3 separate regions of the Homo sapiens genome follow, and regions 2 and 3 are each linked to region 1. The links are contacts of gene promoters, found by promoter capture Hi-C in blood cells and fetal thymus (Javierre and others, 2016). All regions are on one chromosome and are shown on one strand. The core of a region is centred on a gene start or on the middle of the fragment in contact, and the rest is flanking DNA. Distances in the headings are between cores, read along the strand shown.

Evidence for each region. The method cuts DNA at HindIII sites, captures the fragments that hold promoters and counts their contacts. A CHiCAGO score of 5 or more calls a contact.
Region 2: a fragment that was not itself captured here is called in contact with the fragment with the promoter of VPS37C in region 1 in 4 of 17 cell types (naive CD8 T cells, non-activated CD4 T cells, activated CD4 T cells and 1 more); the score reaches 8.3 in naive CD8 T cells.
Region 3: a contact is called between a fragment that was not itself captured here and the fragment with the promoter of VPS37C in region 1, in 2 of 17 cell types (total CD4 T cells and activated CD4 T cells). The highest score is 6.3, in total CD4 T cells.

The regions. Positions count from the first base shown.
Region 1 is chr11:61,159,649-61,163,688 of GRCh38, forward strand. VPS37C (VPS37C subunit of ESCRT-I) reads right to left here and starts at 1,778. Exons shown (of 5, transcript NM_017966.5): 1 at 1,743-1,778. RefSeq lists enhancers at 1,241-1,834, 1,835-2,427, 2,168-2,217, 2,228-2,367 and a silencer at 1,418-2,177. The HindIII fragment of the contact is 11,808 bases long and covers 1-4,040 here.
Region 2 is chr11:60,859,887-60,863,937 of GRCh38, forward strand. No RefSeq gene overlaps it. Among named protein-coding and RNA genes, the nearest start is that of ZP1, 5.6 kb to the right of the region's middle. The HindIII fragment of the contact is 7,101 bases long and covers 1-4,051 here.
Region 3 is chr11:60,804,379-60,808,666 of GRCh38, forward strand. All of the region lies in intron 2 of LOC105369322 (a long non-coding RNA gene), which reads right to left. Among named protein-coding and RNA genes, the nearest start is that of MS4A10, 21 kb to the left of the region's middle. The HindIII fragment of the contact is 998 bases long and covers 1,142-2,139 here.

The sequences.
Region 1 (4,040 bases), core at 528-3,027:
GCTTGCAGTGAGCCGAGATCCCGCCACTGCACTCCAGCCTGGGCGACAGAGCGAGACTCCGTCTCAAAAAAAAATAAATAAATAAATAAATAAAAAATACAAAAATTAGCCGGGCGTGGTGGTGGGCACCTATAATCCCAGCTACTTGGGAGGCTGAGGCAGGAGAATCGCTTGAACCAGGGGGCGGAGGTTGCAGTGAGCTGAGATCACACCACTTCACTCCAGCCTGGGCGACAGATCAAGACTCCGTCTCAAAAAAAAAAAAAAAAAAAAAAAAAAATCCAAACTTGGCCACTTACTGGCTGTGTGACACTAGCCAGGTTATCTAACATCTCCGCAACTCACTTCATCTGTAAAACGGGATCATCACCTATTTGGACATGTTCGCAAAATTCGGTATGTTCAGAAAGCCCTAGAACAGTGCCCAGCATATGAAGCCAAGCAACAAATCACAGCTATTGCTACCTGCAAAACAGCGGCCAGAAACTGCTCAGAAAGTCTACAATGAAAATGTTCTACTTAATGGAAATTACAAAGGCACGGAACCACATTTCCAAGATAATCTAGGTAAAAGGCTTTTCTGGGCACTATGACCGCAAAGAACAAAGACTCAGTTTAGCGTCCAGTATTTTCATTGCAACAGTCCCCGATCCCACCCGGAACTACAGAGTTCAGGTGTCTGCAGGGTTGCAGCTTTGGACAACAAAGTAAGAGTCTTTCTTTCCCCAGTTCCTCGGTCACCACCACCTCCAGCTCTAAGGCCAAAAGTCACAGAACTGAGAGTCTGGTGGCAGCATCTTGGTGCATTAGTAGGAAATGGGACTCCTGGAGCCAATAAAGAGGGTGGAAAAGGCCTTAGGCAGCAAGAGAACTGAGGTACCGCTGGAGCGAAGGGAAATGAGTGGGAAGTTTCTGGAGCTGAAGACTGACATTCCCAGGGTAAGTGAGCCCAGACAAGGTGTAGCTGGGAAAGCACTGCCTCAGCTCAGCGACTAAAACCCCAGGTTGTAGAGTCCACTCTGCCAGTAACTCACAAAACACCTCCAGTTAACTCCTTCTCCCATCCGTAAAGTGGGAAATCGCCTCATCGGCTGAGGAGGAAATGAAGAGGAACCAGGCATATAATGGGTATGTATACATCAGTGCCCTTTGCGCCCAGAGGGTCCCGGGGTAAGAAATGTTCAGTGATGCTGGGAGGTCCAAGTCTGAGTCCTGAACAAAGCCAAAGCTGAAACTCCCATCTCTCAATGCCCTGGAGAAAGGGCACAAGCCAGTAAGTCACAGAGCAAAGTCCCTCCAACCTCCCCTCTGCCACTCGTCTCCCGCGTGCCCTCTGGCAAGTCGGACCCTACTCTTAGGCCTCAGCTTCCCCATCTATACAATGGGCTAATTGGCTCTAATGTCATCAGAATTGTGACCGCAAGATGCTCACATATGGGACGAGGGCCTGCAGAGACGCAGAAAGGAGGGTGGCGGTGAGTGGTGGGGCGGAACTGGAGGTGCGACCCGCCGGGGAGCCGGGGCGGCGCCTCGCGCTCTCCCTCCCTCCCTCCCACCGCGAGGGGCAGGGGCGCCGGCCCCCGGCGAGAGTCACGCGCCCCTCGTGCCCAATCACCGGCCTCTGCCAGGATGAGGCGGGCAGGCGGGGGCGCTCCGGGAGCCACGGCCGGCGCCGCCCCCACCGTCGTCCTCTGCCCCGCCCGCCTGCGGCAGAGCCGGGACCCTCCCCAGTCTCCGCTCACCTGCCAGGGCCGCCGTCGCCGCCGCCACCGCGGGTTAAACCGCAGCCGCGCCCACACTTCCGGGGTCCGCCAGGCCCGCCCCCTACCGGATGTGACCCCCTTGCAACGTCCGGCGCCCCAGTGGCGCGCGTGCTCGCCCCGCGACCCCGTTGGCCGCCCCGCCTCGCGCGCCTCTGAGTTACCACGACATCGTGCCACACACACACGCTCGCGGCCGCCCGGGCCACAACCACGGGAGCGCCCACGAGACCCCTCCAGCGCTCGCCGCACGCCTCGGCCCCGCCCCCGGTAAGAGGCCCCGCCCACTGGGCGGAGACCAGGCCGCTCTGGGCTAGTGCGCCGGCGCGGACGTCCGCCGCCTTCCGAGTGGCCAGCGAGGACTCGCTCTGTACACAGCTCGATCTTGGGAGGCTTCTCAGAGGGACCCAAAAGGAGGGGGAAGCAGATGGAAGCCCAGAACCTAGGAGGAGCCCCAGATGGGCTGAGCTCAGACTGAGGAGCCCCAAGGCCACCACACACTCATTTCCATTTACTAGTTAATCTCTTTCCCCCACCCATTCATTCTACAGAATTACCAGTATTCCCCATCTCCTCCCTTCCCCCCTGGAAACAGGAGAGTCCAGCATAATAAGGAAGCCCCCTCTGCTCTAACCCTTAAAAAAAGGAATCTGAAGTGACCTGATGTTAACTAATCAGGTGTTTTTTTTTTTTTTTCTATTCTGTTCCCTTTCCCACCTATGAAACCCACTGCTCTGCTATTTCCCAGGGGAATTTGAGACCAAATAAGTCTATTTACAATGGTAACTGATGTCAATGTCTAAAGTTTCCAACCTCTCAAAATCAAGAGGTTGACCAAAAGGGGAGAAGTGTCCAGTTTAGCCTAAAGTTGTCTCCTGGCGTATCTTAAGTTTGTCCTAAAGGTTTCTCCGTACATAGTGAACTGGATCCTACTCATACCAATCACAGAGTTTCAGCCAATCACAGGCAGCCACCTGTTCAAACCTTGTTCCAATAAGGCAAATGTCAATCTGTCATTGGTAGGGAACCAAACTGGATCCCTTTGCCCTCAGAAAGCCAAACACCGAAGTATCAGGTTTTTGTAGAGGGAAAGATTTGTTGCAAGTCAACTGGGAAGGAGACATGCTCAAATCTGTCTCCCCAAGCCAGGGGCTGTGACAGGTGTTATAGGCAGAGGGTAATGAGCAGTGATCTGATTGAATCTTGCAATAAGCAATGATCTGACTGGATCTTGCCATGGGATGATGCCATGGCTCAATCTGATTAGATCATGGCTTATACCATGTATCTACTTCTTAATTCTGTTCCGGTTCTTTGGTCTGAGCATTTAGGTTGCGCCTGTGGTTGCATGCTTGGTTCTTCTGGGCACGCTCAGGTTACATAACTTGCAACCTGGGATCATGGCAACTGAAAAAACAACTCACCACTTTATTACACAAAGTTGAACCAGATGGGGCTGGTTCTGCGCTTACATAACTGGTCCAACTGTTTCTGTACCTCGCTTCTGTTTTCTGGACATCTATTTCCTTTTTCTTTTCTTATTTTTAAATTTTAATGATTATTTTTTAATAGAAATGGAGATTCGCTATGTTGCCCAGGCTGGTCTGGAACTCCTGGACTCAAGCAATCCTCCAGCCTCGGCTTCCCAAAGTGTTGGAATTACAGGCATGAGCCACCACGCCCAACCTGCTTTCCGTTTTCTATCCCTAAATGTTATCCAACCACCTGGCAGCCTCAGAGTCACTCTGAACCTATTCTGGTTCTGGGGGCTGACTGATTCACAAATCATTATTTGCTCAATTAAACTCTGTCAAACTGAATTTGTCAAAACTCCTTCTTATAACAGAAGGGGTCCATGAAGAAGGTCAGCTGCTGACCCTTCTGAGACACTGGTGACTCCTTTGAGCGGGGGCATGTTGGTTTTGCAAACATTTCACTTGGTACAGAATGTCAGAGTGACTCCCATTGACAGCACCTGTTTGAAAGCTAGGTTGAAATTGTTTCTGAGGGTTAGGGAGGGCCAGGGCAGATGACCTTAATTTTTTGTCATAAGCCTTTTTGTGCTATGTGATTTTTTTTTTTTTTTGAGACGGAGTTTCTCTCTTGTTGCCCAGGCTGGAGTGCAATGGTGTGATCTCTGCTCACTGCAACCTCCGCCTCCTGGGTTCAGGTGATTGTCCTGCCTGAGCGTCCCAAGTAGCTGGGATTACAGGCGCCTACCACCACACCCGGCTAGTCTTTGTATTTTTAGTAGAGACAGGGTTTCACCATGTTGCCAGG
Region 2 (4,051 bases), core at 534-3,033, 300 kb before region 1:
GCCACTGTGTCCGGCCCCATTCTGGAACCTTTCTTACCCATGGTCTGGTGCAATTCTCCATGGCTCTGTCTTCACCTGCAGTGGGTACAACCTTGGGGACTGATCGCTTTATAGTAGGAAGGAAGACAAGAAGGCAGAGCAGGCAGAGGCAGCCCTGGCCTGGGCTCAGGCCCACACATGTGCCAGGCAATCGTCGCAGAAACAACAGTGGTGTATTTGTTTCCTCGGGCTGTCAGAACAAACTACCACAAACGTGGCAGCTTTAAACAACAGAGACTTATTCTCTTACAGTCTGGAAGCCAGAGTCTGTAATCAGATGCCAGCACTTCCTCCGAAAGCTCTAGAAAAGGAGACTTTTTGGCCCCTCCAGCTTCTGGTGGCTCCAGGCGTCCCTTGGCTTAGGGCTGCATCACTGCAATCTCTACCTCCTCTTTACCTGGCCTTCCCCCTCCCTCTTTTCATGTGTCTCTCACAGAGTACTGGTCACTGGACTTAGGGCTCATCTGGATCATCCAGGGTGCTCTCATCTTGAGATTCTTAAATTGATTACATCTGCAAAGTCCTCTTATCCAAATAAGGCCACATTCACAGGTTCCAGGGGTTAGGTTGTGGACATGTCTTTTGAGGGCCACCATTCAACACAGTGAAAGCAATAATAGCTTCTGGGTACGGTGGCTCATGCCTGCAATCCCAGCACTTCGGGAGGATGAGGCGGACAGATCACTTGAGGTCAGGAGTTCGAGACCAGCCTGGCCAACAGGCAAAACCCCATCTCTACTAAAAATACAAAAATTAGCCAGGTGTGATGGTGCACGCCTGTAATACCAGCTATTCAGGAGGCTGAGGCAGGAGAATCGCTTGAACCCAGGAGGCAGAGGTTATGGTGAGCCGAGATCCTGCCACTCCACTCCAGCCTGGGTGACAGAGCGAGACGCCATCTCAAAAAAAAAAAAAAAAAAAAAATGAAAACAGTAATAGCTAACACTTATGGGGCACTCACTATGTGCCAGCGTAAGGCTGAAACTTGCTCATGGATGAGCTCATCAAATATTCACGCACCCCTCTGAGTTAGGTACCACTATCATCGTCACTCACCAAGGGGAAAACTGAGGCTCAGAGAGCTTAAGCAACCCTACCAAGCCTGCTCAGCTGGGGAGCAGAGGAGCTGGAGTTCAGAGCCATGTGGTCCAGCAGCAGAGCCCAGCTCTTCGCAGCTGATGAGATTCTCTGAGGTTCTTTGTTCCCTCAGGGGAAGCAGGGCTGCCTGTCTTCAGTTAAATGCGCTCCCACTGGCCTTCTGGGAGCATCTCTGCGGTGAGCACGGTCCATACATACACACACAGCTGGCGCTGCTCTTGGGTTACTCTGCAGGCCCCGGAGTGAGGCAGCCTGCTTCCTGCTGGTTTCCTGGCATGCATGGATCCCCTGAAAGGGGATTTTGTCTTTCCAGCCTAGAGAGGCTCCATCCTCCTCCAGTGCCTTCCCTAGGCTCTATTCACAGAGGAGACAGGGCAAGCAACTGATACTTACACGGCGCCCCACTTAGGTGGACTGTATTCTTAGTTCCATTTTATAGATTAAGAAACTCAAGTTCCAACTGGGTGCGGTGGCTCACGCCTGTAATCCCAGCACTTTGGGAGGCTGAGGCGGGCGGATCGCAAGGTCAGGAGATCGAGACCATCCTGGCTAACACGGTGAAACCCCGTCTCTACTAAAAATATAAAAAATTAGCCGGGCATGGTGGCCAGCGCCTGCAGTCCCAGCTACTCGGGAGGCTAAGGCTGGAGAATGGTGTGAACCGGGAGGCGGAGCTTGCAGTGAGCCGAGATCGCGCCACTGCACTCCAGCCTGGGCGACAGAGTGAGACTCTGTCTCAAAACAAAACAAAAAAAAAAAAAGAAAGAAAAGAAACTGAAGTTCCATTAAAAAAAAATTCATAGGTTAAAAACAGAAAGAAAGAAATGAACAAACAGGTTTACAAACAGGCCAAGTGGCCAGGTGTGGAGGCTCATGCCTGTAATCCCAGCACTTTGGGAGACAGAGGCGGGCAGATTGCTTGAGCCCAGGAGTTTGAGACCAGCCTGGGCAATATAGCAAGACCCCATCTCTAAAAAAAAACCCAAAAACCAGAAGCCAAGTGGATAAAGCCAAGATTCCAAGTCAAGTCACCTCCATCTGACCCTCTCTCTTTATCAATAAAAATAATCGTGGTTGTAATGGCTATCGTGTTCAAATGATGACCATGTGCAGACCCTGTTCTGCCTGCTTCACATGGATTATCTCATTTAATCCTCAGAGCAACCCTACAATTTAGGTGCTATTATAACCCCATTTTATAGATGAGGAAAGCAAGTCACAGAGCAGGGAAGGGACTTTTCCAAGGTCTCCAGTGGGTGAGCAGAGGAGCTGGGATCCTCCCAGGCTGATAATTCTTGGTGTCCATGAGTCTTTGCAAGAACGTAGAGTCGTAACCGAGGGCTCAGGGCGCTCGTGCGCGCTCTCTCTCTCTCTTGGATACTCTGGTACCCTTTTCCCAAAGGTGTTCTGCCCTTGGCCCTGAGGAAGCCCCCCTTCTCTTTCCCTGCCCATTTCCAGCACCTTGGGAGACGTACTTTCCCCATGGGTCCATGACCAGTGGGGAAACACCTCTCCGTGTCTTATGTAATTGCATCCCCACCATAATCATTCTCATCCTTACTCTCCAGATAGAGGAAAAAAGCCGGTAAGTGACTTCCCAGGGCCCTTGTGCTCATAAACAGTGAGCACCAGGCAAAATCCAGGCCTCTCAAAGACTCCAGCTGATTCTCTCTCTGGCCCCTAAAAGCCCCCGTTAGGAAAAGTTCTCTCTTATGATAGCAAATAAATGCAGAAGGAAGGGTAGAGTTAGAGAACCACCACCCACTTGGCAACCACACTAGCCAGTGAACATTTGAAGAGGAGCAGGATTGATTACATAGTCTCAAAGTATCTCCCTGTAAGATACTCATGAATTACAAAGAGAAACATCATTACTTTATGGTGGAGAAACCTGGCAGACACCACCTTATCCAAGTGATCAAAGTCACATCAGCAATAACAGGACAAGCCAGCGGGGTGTGCCTCGAGATACTGAGAAGGACACAACATCACTTCTGTACAAGCTGAATTGTATCCCCCCAAAATTCATATGCGAAATCCCTAACCCTCCACCCCCATCCCTCAGAATGTGACTGTATTTGGAGATAGAGCTTTTAAAGATGTGATTTAAGATTGAGCCCCTTAAGGTGGCCCTAATCCAATCTGACTGGTGTCCTTAGAAGAAGAGGAAATTTGTTTTTGTTTTTTGGGATGGAGTTTCACTCTGTCTTCCAGACTGGAGTGCAGTGGTGCCGTCTTGGCTCCCTGCAACCTCCACCTCCCAGGTTCAAGTGATTCTCCCACCTCAGCCTCCTGAGGAGCTGGGATTGCAGGTGTGCACCACCACACCCAACTAATTAGTTTGTATTTTTAGTAGAGATGGGGTTTCACCATGTTGGCCAGGCTGGTCTCAAACTCCTGACCTCAAGTGATCTGCCCACCTCGGCCTCCCAAAGTGCTAGGATTACAGGCGTGAGCCACCGTGCCAGCCAGAAGAAGAGGGAATTTGACCATTCAAAGAGACACCAAGGACGCACCAGCACAGGGGAAAGACCACGTGAGGACTCAGTGAGAAGACGGTTGTCTGCAGGCCAAAGAGAGAGGCCTCAGGAGCAACCAGACCTGCCACCACTTTGACCTAGCACATCCAGGCTCCAGAGCTGTGAGAAAAAGACTTATTTAAGCCACTCAGTCTGTATTTTGTTACAGCAGCCAAACGGACTAATACAAGGCCAAGATGCATCAACTAAATCTAATGTAACCAGGAGAAAACACCAGACAAACCCAAACTGAGGGCCATTCTGCAAAATCATCCGGCTGTACTAAAAAATGTCAAGGGTATGAAAGACAAAAGAAGATAGAAGGGCGGTCCCAGATCAGAGGAGGCCAAGAGGCACGCCAGCGAGACTCTGAGCCTGGATTGGATCCTGCAGAC
Region 3 (4,288 bases), core at 391-2,890, 360 kb before region 1:
TTTTTTTTTTTTTGGTTTTTGGTTTTTTTTGTGCTGTTTTGTTTTGGTTTTTTGTTTGTTTTTTTGTTTTTTTTTTGAGACAGAGTCTCACTCTGTCACCCAGGCTGGAGTGCAGTGGCACGATCTCGGCTTACTGCAAGCTCTGCCTCCCGGGTTCACACCATTATCCTGCCTCAGCCTCCCGAGAAGCTGGGACTATAGGCACCCGCCACCGCACCCGGCTAATTTTTTGTATTTTTAGTAGAGACAGGGTTTCACTGTATTAGCCAGAATGCCCATTGGGTTTACTTTTATGCGTATCTTCCATTTATGGCAAGTGATACTGAATTTCTATTTATGGTAGTGCTATCAAGTGCTCTTTTATAATATACATATGTAAGTTAAAACAGTGATAGTGGATATGGGGTTTTCTGAAGGAGTGACAAAAATGTTCTAATATTAATTGTAATGATGCTTGCATAAGTCTGCCCATACTAAAAATCATTGATTTAAAAAAGAGGCCACTTAAGGAAACTTACTAAACAAATAGCGACACAAAACACAAATGTTTTAGAGTCATGAAGTTAGGCCGGGTGTGGTAACTCACACATGTAATCCCAGCACTTTGGGAGGCAGAGGTGTGTGGATCACCTGAGGTCAGCAGTTCGAGACCAACCTGGCCAACATGGTGAAACCCCGTCTCTACTAAAAATACAAAATAATTAGCCGGGTGTGGTGGCGCATGCCTGTAATCCCAGCTACTCGAGAGGCTGAGGCAGGAGAATCGCTTGAACCCAGGAGGCGGAGGTTGCGGTGAGCCCAGATTGAGCCATTGCACTCCAGCCTGGGCACCAAGAGCGAAACTCTGTCTCAATAAAAACAAATAAATAAATTAATAAAAATATTAAAAAATAAAGTCATGAAGTTAGAGCTTGAAGGACTGAAGTCTGGAAAACAAGGCAAGTAGATCTCTTCACTCCACTCTGTTTGCAGAAGGGAGGTGCAAGGGTTTGCACTCTGCAGTTGAGATTAAAAATTTACTGCGGCCCTTGAACCTAGAATTCTACTTCCTAATCTCATTGAACTCTGGTGTTGGAAGAATCTTTGCGGATCATCTCAACTAACCCATCATGAGACAGATGGAGAAACTTGGCCCAGATGAAGCTTAGTGAAGTTATCCAGCAGACCTTTGATGGACATGAGGCTAGAACCCCGGTCCTGAGCTACCACCACACTTCCCCAGCCTGCCCCACCTGCTTTCCTAGGAGCCTGAGAGCAGGAACACGGCCAACTCCTATCTGCATCCAGCACCCTGACTTCCTGGCTCCCAAATTTATCATCTCCCCTAGACTATGAGATAATTCTGCAAACTCTAACCCCAGCCCGACCCTGGGAGCCTAAAAGAAACTTCAAAGCCACACCCTCTTCCTTCTCCGTCTCCATGACCTTAAGGCAGGTCACAGAGGCAGGACGGCATTGCACTCATTTACTCTTCATTCATTCCACAGGTAAAGACTGAGTCCCTACAATGCTATGTCCAGGGGCAAACCACCATGAGCAAACCCCAGCCTCTCAGAGCTCGGACTCTGGTGGGAGAGACAGGCACTAATCCAACGATCACACCTGCGAATGTATAACTACCATAAAGGGAAATTGAGAGGCGTTATGAGAGAATGTGATGGAGACCTAATCTGGAATACAGGGCATGGCCAGAAGGAGAGGCTGTGTGAGAAGAGGCCTGCAGGTGTCTGAGCTGTCCTGGCCCTGTCATTTCTTCTGCACAAAGACTTAGCTCTTCCCAGGTCAAAACCCTTAGCCTGCCCCTCACCACCCCTCATGGCTGTGATCACTTCCTCCCCACCTCCTCACTTCCTTCCAAACAGTCCGATTGCCTTGCATCCGTTCAGAAGCAGATTGTCCCCATGGTGTGTCAGGCCCCTGCCAGGTGCTGGATGCTCTTATCAGTTAGGGTTCCCCCATAGAAACAGAAACAGTGAGACATATAGACTAAGATTCATTGCAAGGAATTGGCTTATACGATTAGGGGGAGCTGCAGGCGCAAGTGTACAATTGGCAGAGCAGACACTCGGGAAGGCAGAGCTGGAGCTGCTGTCCACAGGGGGAATAACTTCATCAGGGGAACCTCAGTTCTATTCTTTAAGCTTTTCAACGGAATCAGGCCCACCCAGATTATCTAGGAAAATCTCCCTTACTTACAGTCAACTCATTGTGGATTCAATCACACCTACAAAATACTTTCACAGGTTTTTTTGTTTTTTTTTTTTTTGACACAGAGTCTCACTCTGTCACCCAGGCTGGAGTGCAGTGGTAGGATCTTGGCTCACTGCAACCTCCGCCTCCAGGGTTCAAGCGATTCTCCTGCCTCAGCCTCCTGAGTAGCTGAGATTACAGGCGCGTGCCTCCACGTCCGGCTAATTTTTTGTATTTTTAGTAGAGATGGGGTTTCACCATGTTGGTCAGGCTGGTCTCAAATTCCTGACCTTGTGATCCACCTGCCTCAGCCTCCCAAAGTGCTGCGGTTACTGGCGTAAGCCACCGTGCCCGGCCTACTTTCACAGGTATTAACACCTAGATTAATGCTTGGTCGAATTGCTGGGGATGTAGCCCAGCCAAACTGACACATCAAAAGATCATCACAGGCACACAGAGGCAAGAGAAGTTGTAGAACAAGTGGACAGGACTGGCAATCACAGAATTATCTTTGGCAGCCTGGAGGCTGGTAGTCGTCAAACATCCCCATGTTAAATTTTATTCCACTCCAATAGCTAACCTTTACTGAGTGCTTACTCTATGCCAGACACCATTCTAAGCACTTTTGCAAGAAGTCCTCACAAAAAGCAGTTTATGGATTAGGAGACTCAGGCCCAGAGGAGTTAAGTAATTTCCTGAAAGTCACGTAGCAAGAAAGTGGTAGAACGAGGAATCACACTCCATTGGATGCCAGAACCTGAACTTATGACTCGTGGCCGCTCTGCAATGCCGCCTCCGTTTGTCAGTTTATTTGTGCCAGAAGTGGCTGAGCAGTTTATCAGCATCTCTTCATCCTCAGGGATCTTTCTCTTTTTTTTTGAAACAGAGTCTCACTCTGTTGCCCAGGCTGGAGTGCAGTGGCATGACCTCGGCTCACTACAACCTCCTCTTCCTGGTTTCAAGCGATTCTCCTGCCTCAGCCTTCTGGGTATCTGGGATTACAGGCACGCACCACCACTCCCAGCTAATTTTTGTATTTTTAGTAGAGATAGGGTTTCACCGTGTTGGTCAGACTGGTCTCGAACTCCTGACCTTGAGTGATCCACCCACCTCAACCTCCCAAAGTGCTGGGATATTATAGGCATGAGCCACCAGGCCCGGTCATCCTCAAGGATCTTCTCAGAAAAGGGCTGTGGTTGTCTCTATTTTGCAGATAAAGATATGGAGGCCTAGAGAGGCTGCTTAACGCAGCTTCATGGTGGCAGAAACAGGACTCAAGCCTTCGTCTGATCAACGACAAAGTCCAGGCTCTTCTGTCTCTGAAACAGAAGTGAAAAGGCCCTTCTGCAAGATGGCTCCAGGGAGTGAAAAAATCAACACAAGACAACACAGTGAAATTAGGAGGCCCTGGGCCAGGCGTCATAGGAACACAGAGGAGCAAGCCACATTCGGCCTGGGCTGGGGCAGCCAGGGAAGTGCTGTAGGAGGATTAGATGCCTGAGCTGAGTCCCAGGGGGAAGAATGATATTCCAGGCGCAGGGCAAGCATGGACAAAGGCATGAGATGAGAGAAGCAGGGAGCAAGTGTAGCCTCCAAACACAGGAAATTCCCATTACACAGAGATTAGTATCCCAAGCCGGTGGACAAGATAAAAATCATGCAGGGGATGGCCAGGCGCAGTGGCTCACACCTGTAATCCCAGCACTTTGGGAGGCCAAGGCGGGCGATCACCTCAGGTCAGGAGTTTGAGACCACCCTGGCCAACTTGGCGAAACCCCGTCTCTACTAAAAATACAAAAATTAATTGGTCATGGTGGTGCACGCCTGTGGTCCCAGCTACTTGGGAGGCTGAGGCAGGAGAATTGCTTGAACCCAGAAGGCGGAGGTTGCAGTGAGCTGAGATCGCGTCACTGCACTCCAGACTGGGCGACAAAGACTCCACCTAAAAAAAAAAAAAAGAAAAAGAAAAAAGAAAAGAAAAATTATGGAGGGTCAAAGTTGCCCTTGAAGATCTCTTAAATTTCCCAAATAGTTTAATAACACAACACAGACCAACTGCGGGAACACCACATTCCCTCTCCCACATAGACTCACTCCG